2 separate regions of the Homo sapiens genome follow, and region 2 is linked to region 1. The links are contacts of gene promoters, found by promoter capture Hi-C in blood cells and fetal thymus (Javierre and others, 2016). All regions are on one chromosome and are shown on one strand. The core of a region is centred on a gene start or on the middle of the fragment in contact, and the rest is flanking DNA. Distances in the headings are between cores, read along the strand shown. Region 1 holds the start of TIGD7 (tigger transposable element derived 7). Region 2 overlaps LOC105371059 (a long non-coding RNA gene).

The links. The method cuts DNA at HindIII sites, captures the fragments that hold promoters and counts their contacts. A CHiCAGO score of 5 or more calls a contact.
Region 2: a contact is called between a fragment that was not itself captured here and the fragment with the promoter of TIGD7 in region 1, in 1 of 17 cell types (erythroblasts). The highest score is 5.9, in erythroblasts.

Annotation. Positions count from the first base shown.
Region 1 is chr16:3,303,639-3,307,962 of GRCh38, forward strand. It overlaps TIGD7 (tigger transposable element derived 7), which reads right to left and starts at 1,792. Exons shown (of 2, transcript NM_033208.4): 1 at 1,574-1,792. It overlaps ZNF75A (zinc finger protein 75A), which reads left to right and starts at 1,859. Exons shown (of 7, transcript NM_001302109.2): 1 at 1,859-2,005. RefSeq lists an enhancer at 1,353-1,882. The HindIII fragment of the contact is 19,814 bases long and covers 1-4,324 here.
Region 2 is chr16:3,375,393-3,379,730 of GRCh38, forward strand. The region is part of intron 1 of LOC105371059 (a long non-coding RNA gene); the gene reads left to right. Among named protein-coding and RNA genes, the nearest start is that of OR2C1, 22 kb to the left of the region's middle. The HindIII fragment of the contact is 2,986 bases long and covers 1,258-4,243 here.

The DNA of each region.
Region 1 (4,324 bases), core at 542-3,041:
CTCACTTAAAAAGGATCAAGATCTATGCCTAAGAGGAGTTACATACCATCCCATCCAAAAGCAAAAATAGCATAATGGCCTGGTAATGGCCTCTCATCTTCATTCTCACCTTAAACTTACCTTAGATGAACTGCCATAGAAAGCAGCTCAGTCCAAAACGCTCAAATGGTGCTCCAGGATTTACTTTTTTGTATTGTTTTGTTTTGTTTTTTGCGACGGAGTCTCGCTCTGTCGCCCAGGCTGGAATGCAGTGGCGTGAACTCGGCTCACTGCAAGCTCCGCCTCCCGGGTTCACGCCATTCTCCTGCCTCAGCCTCCCGAGTAGCTGGGACTACAGGCGCCCACCACCACGCCCGGCTAATTTTTTTTTGTATTTTTTAGTAGAGACGGGGTTTCACCATGTTAGCCAGGATGGTCTCGATCTCCTGACCTCATGATCCGCCCGCCTCGGCCTCCCAAAGTGCTGGGATTACAGGCGTAAGCCACCGCGCCCGGCCAGGATTTACTTTCTTAAATGCACTCTTTTCATTCCCATTCAAAGGACTCCAGTATAAGTGCCACATAAACTCGTTTTCTAACTTTTAAAACTCTTCCTCTAAATGCAGCCCAACTCAGTAAAAACGTACCTAAGATCTCACAGTCTAATGTTTCCAGCTTTTAAAGCCTTTACTCCTACCCTTCCCTCTGCCTGGAAAGTGTCTCCATTCCCTGCTGTGGACAAAATCCCTCAAGGTCTTTTATAATTTCCCCCAACCCCAAATCAACTTGGATTTTCTTGGAGTTCTCACAGCATTCAGTTTATGTCCTATTCTTACCCTTGTGTTACTGATATTCACGAAATTGCTCAGTCCTTTCAAGAGATTGCTTAAGGACAAAGACTTCTTACTCAACTCTGCAATATTGGCTACACATAGCTGACTTAATAAATAGTCCCTTGACTGGTATAAGCTGACGTTACAAAAACTGGTAATTCCGAAACCACTCATACTGGACTTATTAAATAATCCCTCAACTGGTACAGACTGACATTACAAAAACGGATTAATTCAGAGATCACTGAACACCCAAAACACTCAGATTCTTATAACTATGATTCAGTAAATATGTGTGGAATGCCTATCTTACCAGGTGACTATGTTAGGCGCTGCATGAGATATAAGATGAAAACAAGGTTCCCATTTTCCAGGGAAGAATACTGGAGTGGAAAACGCAGAGGATACCACAACAGGAGAGCTATTTCCGATTAGCGGCCGCCACTGCTGAGCTATGTGACCCTGAGCAAGTCACTTCTTAGGTCTCCGTTTCTCTGTCAAGGAGAGATAGAAAAAGAACCTATTTCACAGGTTCAAACCTACCTCAAGAAAAAATAGTTGTGGGGAATGCGTCACGAGACCTAGAAAACGGTACAAAACCCTCGGGGGGCCGCTGTTTCTGACCTAGCGAGTGGCCCGACCCGGACAAAATGCCTCTTCCTCGAGGAGGCGGCGACGAGCCCAGCAACAGCTCGAGCACGGCCGGCCGGGCCGCGGGAAGCCCGAGAACGCGGCGCGCGCAGCTGGGAGGCGACCCTTACCCGGCGAGGCTCCCGGGACCAAACGCCGCCCGACAGCCACGCAGAACAGACGCGGCAGTGCGACGCCTCCCCCACTGGGGACACGAGACAGCGACAGCCACGCGGTGAGCCGGTACAAGGCCCTCTAGGCTTCAGCGGGTCTGGATACTCGGTGGCATTAACCCTTCCCTACCGCCGGGGAAGACAGCAGTTTCTCTGGCGAGGAAGTAGGCCGGGCTCAGGCGCCTTAGCCAGAGGGCGGGCCTGCGCCACCCTCGGAAAGCGTCACTTCCACTTCCGGCCGGCGCTCTGGCTCTGTACCTGGACAGGGCTGCGGTAGGCCAGCGGTGGGCTGGCGGTTGCGCTCCTCAGATCGGCGGCCTTTCGGGCGGTGGCTTGCGTTTGAGCCTCAGAAAGCGAGGAGCGGCCTCCACGGAAGCCAAGCTGGCCGAGGTAACCGAGAAGCGGCTTCCCCTATGGCTTCGACCCTGGAGCCGCTGGAGCGGCGGCGGCCGCAGGGAGGCAGCCATTTTCCGTAGGCGGTGGCCGCGGCGCTTCCGGGCCGCGCGGCTGGAGCCTGAGGCGGGGCCACCGTCGGGCACGAGAAACCATTCTCTCCCCGCTTTTCGCAGCTGTATCCCAGAGGCGCGGCTGAAGCTCGCTGGGACACTGCCCGCTTGCCCAGTGCCCACGGGCACGCCTGTCGCAGACACAGGCTGTGGCGAATCCGAGTGCTGGCGGGCAGCAGTGCCTGCAGCTGCGCCCGCAGACTCTTTCCCGCCTCCGCCGGCATTTCCGTGTCCGGCCGATGTCATGCGGTCGGTTGAGCCTCAGGGCTAGCAGCTTCTACTGATGCAAAAACATAGGAAGTGTCTCTTTGCTTCTGGAACCGGGGTGGGCAGCAAGGAGCTGGCCACTTCTTTGAATACCGGTGGCATCCTGGGCAGAATTTCGGTGCCGTTTCTGCTGGCTCACTTCAGGAAAAGTGAGGCTCACGGCTCTCCTCAGCCCCCCTTAGAAGTCTAAATGACCTTTGGAGAAATACAAAGTCAGCAGAAAGTTTCACTTTCATCGTCACCAACTCCTGTTGGAGTTGATATTTCATAAACATCAGCGACAGAAAGAAAATACGACTTGATATTTTGTAAATAAAATATCCTTTTTTACAAGTTGATATTTTGTAAACAGAGGTCAGCTGTAATTTTCTCCAGATCAAGTAAGCACAGTTAAAAATTCATATAGGCCTGGCGCGGTGTTTGACGCCTGTAATCCCAGCACTTTGGGAGGCCAAGATGGGTGGATCACGAGGTCAGGAGATCGAGACCACCCTGGCCAAGATGGTGAAACCCTGTCTCTACTAAAAACACAAAAATTAGCCGGGCATGGTGGCACGCGCCTGTAATCCCAGCTAGTCGGGAGGCTGAGGCAGGAGAATGGCTTCAACCGGGGAGGTGGAAGTTGCAGTGAGCTGAGATCACGCCACTGCACTCCAGCCTGGGTGACAGGGCGAGACTCCATCTCAAAAAAAAAAACAAAATTCGTATAAATCATCTGCATGGCACCCTTTATGTGTGTTGCAAAGAATGATGAGCATCTTGTTGCTTACTTGGGAGACATTGTCTGAAAATAGGCTACTTTTTTACTTTCTGTAGTACCCCCTCCCCCCACTGTATCTGGGTTTCACTTACCCGCTGTCAACTGCCATCCAAAAAATATTAAATGGAAAACTCCAGAAATAAACAGTTCATAAGTTTTAAATAACTTTTTTTTTTTTTTTTGGAGATGGAATCTCGTTTTGCTGCCCTGGCTGGAGTGCCGTGGCACAGTCTGAGCTCACTGCAGCCTTCACCTCCCGGGTTCAAACAATTTTCCTGCCTCAGCCTCCTGGGTAGCTGGGACTACAGGCGCGCACTACCACACCTGGCTAATTTTTGTGTTTACAATAAAGAAGGTTTCACCATGTTGGCCAGGCTGGTCTTGAAGTCCTGGTCTCAGGTGATCCACCCACGTCAGGCCTCCCAAAGTGCTGGGATTACAGGCATGAGCCACGGCGCACCGCCAGTTTTAAATAACTCTTACTACAGTGTTTTATTGTTAATCTCTTATTGTACCTAATTTATAAATTAAGGTATCATAGCTATGTATACATAGAGAAAATAGTATAATGCAGTTAGATGCTGTTGGGGGTTTTAGGTATTCACAGAATGTACTGGAACTTACCCCCCTTGGAGAAGGGATACTACTGTATTTTGATCTCACCGTCTCAGCTCTTTTGCCAGTATTCCTACAATGGAAAATCTAAAATGTTGTTTTTTAAGGTGCCTTTATTTTTAGTTTTTAAATTAGAGACAAAGTCTTGCTCTAACTCCCAGGCTGGAGTGCAGTGATGAGGTCATGGCTCACTGCAACCTTGAATTCCTGGGCTCAGGCGACTCTCCCACCTCAGCCTCCTGAGCTAGAACTACTGGTGTGCTCTACCATCCTGGCTATTTTTTTTTTTTTTCTTCAAATTTTGTGTTTTGTAGAGACGGGGTCTCGCTATGTTGCTCAGGCTGGTCTGAAACTCCTGGCTCAAGTGATCCTCCCACCTCGGTCTCCAAAAGTGCTGGGAATGCAGGCATGAGCCACTGCACCTGGCCTAAAATATTTTTAAAGTGAAGGCTTCCATCTTCACAAGAGGATGAAGGGTCATAAAAGTTGTACTCCCCTTACTAGAGACAGACTGGGATGATCTGTTGAAATTTAAGAGAATCTCAGAATGTTTTCCTAATC
Region 2 (4,338 bases), core at 1,501-4,000, 73 kb after region 1:
GTTAATACCAGAGGACTAGAAGATCCCATGTGGAGATGTCAGGTGGCTTAGCCATTGAGAAAGAATGACAGTAGATCTGAAATGGTCCAGAGCCCAGATATTCAACAAAGGCTAAGAGCCAAGGTGAGAGGGTAAAGGGAAGGTGTGAACGAACGGGTGAAGCCCCACTGTGTGCTTGGCCAGCCCCACAGAGCTCTCTGCTGGTGCTTGGGGGTATGAATTCTACTTCTGACATGTCAATTTATGTCACCATCTCCTGTGCCTGGGTCTAAAGTCTTGACTTGTAAAAGAAAAAAAAACCAACTGGGGATTCCAACAGACACTACCTTGATGGTAGGTAAGCGGGGCTGGGTAACAAGTGAGATCTCTGATTCCTTCCTTCCTTCCTTCTCTCTCCCCTTTTCTTTTCTTTTCTTTTTTCCTTCCTTCCCTCTCTCCCTTTCCTTTCCTTCCTTCCTCCCCCTCCCTCCTTCCCTTTCCTCCTTCCTTCCTTCTTTCTTTCCTTCCTTCCCCTCCCTCCTTTCCTTCCTCCCTTCCTCCCTTCCTTTCTCCCTCCCTTCCTTCCTCCCTTCCTTTCCTTTCTTTCCTTTCTTTCTGACAGACTCTTACTCTGTCCCCAGGCTGGAGTGCAGTGGCGTGATCTCAGCTCACTGCAACCTCCGCCTCCCAGATTCAAGCGATTCTCCGGCCTCAGCCTCCTGAGTAGCTGGAATTACAGGCGCACGCCAACAGGCCCAGCTAATTTTTGTATTTTTAGTAGAGATGGGTTTTCACCATGTTGACCAGGCTGGTCTCAAACTCCTGACCCCAGGTGATCTGCCTGCCTTGGCCTCCCAAAGTGGTGGGATTACAGGCTTGAGCCATCACGCCTAGCTCTTTCTTTCTTTTTAAATGGGTCTCTTTTTGCCTTTTCTACCTTTAGACTGTAAAAACTGAGTGAAAGTGAAATGGAAGTAATGAAAGGTTTTGGAATTGATTTGACCTATGTTCAAAATCTAGCTCCTCTCCCTTGGGGCAGTGACCAGGTCTTCCATATCTCTCTTTGCCTGGCACATTATAAACATACCTGGGCAAAATAAATATCAGTTTTATCATACTGTATTTAATGAACAAATGAACTCACTGACCGACTGAAGAATATGGTGTTGGGAGAGTTGTAGATGTAGCCATCAGTAATGCCTGTTGGAGGTTGTTTGGCGCTTGTTTATCCTGCCTGGTAAAACTCAAGACATATCCAGTAATAGCTGGCATATGTGAAGCTTTTACAGTGTGGTTGGTTACATGTAAATGGCTTCCACACATGAAAGCACTTAACCCTTTAAACCCCTCTGAGAGGTAGACATTGTCATCACTGACTGTAAGATGAAGAGGCTGGGCTCAGAAAGGTTAAGTACTTGTGTACTTACTTACCTACTTACGTAAGTGTCCAAAGACACACAGCAATAGGTTATAACAAAATTAGAAGTTAAACCCGGTTTGTCTCACTCCAAAGCCCTCACTACAGCACCATACTAACACTTTTTGTTGGAATCTGCAGAGCTGGAGGTTCATTCGTTGTCTGATACTGACCTTAGGCCCCAGTGTCCTCTCTCTCTAAGAAAGGGGTTCATGTCTCTCAAACAGGCATAAGCACACAAAAGCACTTGGAAAACTGCCCCAGACTGACAAATCAGAATCTCTGGTGGTGGCATCTAGGAATCCTCATTTAAGAGAAATTACAGATGAGGGGAAAATGTCCAGCTCTTTCATTTAGTCACTGTGCAAGTCACCTAACCTAGGAGGGCAGGTATGAATTGGGGCTACCAGGAAACCAAGACTTTACTTACAAATCTCCATAAATCTTAAATCTATGAAAAACTCCAGACTTGCTCCTGGAATGGCCAACTGTAAGGGTAGTGGCTGAGCTGCTGCAGGAGTACAGCTTCCTCCAGATGCCACACAGGTCAACACCAAGTTCACAGCTTTCAGGCTGACTACGATGGGGAATGGTGGGGCCGCTTGCTAGAGTCCCATATTCTCTGTAAGTGAAGAACACTCAGTCCTTCTCTTGGTCTCTACCCAGAAACCAAGTTACGGTTGAGTCTATTTCCAGGACTGTGAGGAGCCAAGGATTCTGCCTGTGATGAAGTCAGCTATGAAATGGGTGCGTTTTTGTGCCAGGATCCCAGAAGTTCTGGGCTGTTTCCAGACTGAACTCACAAGAGAAGCAGCAGAGAGGTAGCCAGAGGAAAGGTGAATGAGGCGCCCAGCTCTTGTTTGGCTCTGACCGTCTGACAGCCACTGTCAGCTGAGAGGAGCCATGGTAGAACTATGGACCAGTGACGGCCAGTAGGCTCTGCCCAACTTCTCTGGGTTGTAGCGAGACGATTGATCCAGTCTACAGGGACTGGTTAGGAATCTTTGGAAAAAAGGAATAGTGTCAATTGAAAAAAAATTATATCAACTAGTTAAAATGTTTCAGTGAGGGAAGGAGGTATGGAAACAGTGTAGAGAGCCCACTGTGTAACTTACCAGGGAATGACCTGGTTTTTTAATGGGCCTCTGAAGGGCTGCACCAATCCTGGAGGGTAGTATTAGACATAAGAGGAAATCTGTAGACTTGGGGTCTTGCCTTTTGTACAACATACTTCCAATACATTCTCAAGTGGTTAGTGTTGTATTGGGCTTGTTAAGCAATGGAAAGTCAAATAGTGAGGGCCTGTGGTCAATTGACTGAGAGAAACAGCCCTGAACTGTCATTCTGAGTGTACCCTCCTGGTGGAAGGTATGCACTAGGGTGCTGAAGAAACAAAGACCTTCCTCACCATCCTTGATAAACAGCAGTTTAGTGAAAATACCTAACCTGGTACTGATAATGCAAGGTGCCCAAAACAATAGCTGTGCAGCCTGAGGAGCTGGGTTATTTGCACATCCAGAGCTGTGTCACAGCAAGTTGAAGTGTCTCCAGATGAACGTCACAAGGAGAGCAGCAGCCATGTGCCAAAGCCCTGTCCCCTCCATGAAGAAATGGACCAGAGGACATTGAGGAGCCAACCTGGCTGGACTCCTAGCCCCCAAGACCCAGCCCAAAAGCTAAGTGGTAGTAAACATTCCCTCCTAGAAGAGTTACATAAAAGACTTAGTAAGAAGAGAGCCCTCTGCACCCTGGGAAACCTGGATTATAATTCTGTCTTTACTGTGGATTGAGCCAAAGACTGTTGTGTGCCCATCCTTCCTCCCTCTAAGAAGTATTTCCATTTCTAGAAGAGAGATGATAATCTACTCTCCCTCTCAAAGATACCACTTAGAGGGCCTGCTTTCCATGTGGGGTTGTATCTCTCCTTTCTTTCTGTGAGTTACTTTTCCCTCTCTGACCTCCACTTATTTGAGTTTCACCCATTGACCCAGATAATAATAGGAAATCCCTAGTAATAGACATAGATGAGAACTCTCTCCTTCACCTCCATAACTAATCTATCACCGCTACATTATGTTGACTATGCGCCCAAAATGTACAAAACCCATCCACTTTTTTCTGTATCCACTGCCATCACTAGACTAGACAACTGAGTTTCTAGACCTCACAGCTAAGAAAGTCTTACCTGGTCTCTTTGCTAGCACTTTTTTTTTTTTTTTTTTTGAGATGGAGTCTCACTCTTTTGCCCAGGCTGGAGTATAGTGACCTGATCTCGGCTCACCGCAAGCTCTGCCTCCCGGGTTCACGCCATTCTCCTGCCTCAGCCTCCCGAGTAGCTGGGACTACAGGCACCCACCACCATGCCCAGCTAACTTTTTGTATTTTTAGTAGAGACAGGTTTCACCCTGTTAGCCAGGGTGGTATCGATCTCCTGACCTCATGATCCGCCCGCCTCAGCCTCCCCAAGTGCTGGGATTACAGGCGTGAGCCACCGCGCCCTGCCCCTTGCTACCACTTTTAGCTCTTCTGACCTATTCTCCACACAGCAGCCAGAATAAGAGAATTGTGTCTTTCCCTGCCTAATTATTCAGTGGCTTCCCATTATACTTATCATAAAATCCAAACTCTTAGCATCACATGTGATAATAAAGTCCAGTCAGGAAAACAGAAACCATTCTTGATGTTTCAAAGAGGGGACTTAATGTAAAGAATTTGTAAAGTGGGTGTGGTAGAATTGAAAAAAAAAGTGTAAAGGGAAAACTGCAGTGACAGAGATAGTAACTGTAGGAAACAGCTACCACACATGGGGTCTGGATAGAGAAAGGGTTGGGTTTACCAGACCTTGGAAGCTTGGAAGAGAGGCCCCGCAGAGCTGGGACTTGGATTTGGCGAGGGTGCTGGGGGTTGGGAGCTGGGAGCTGGGCAGTGTTGCCTGACTGGTG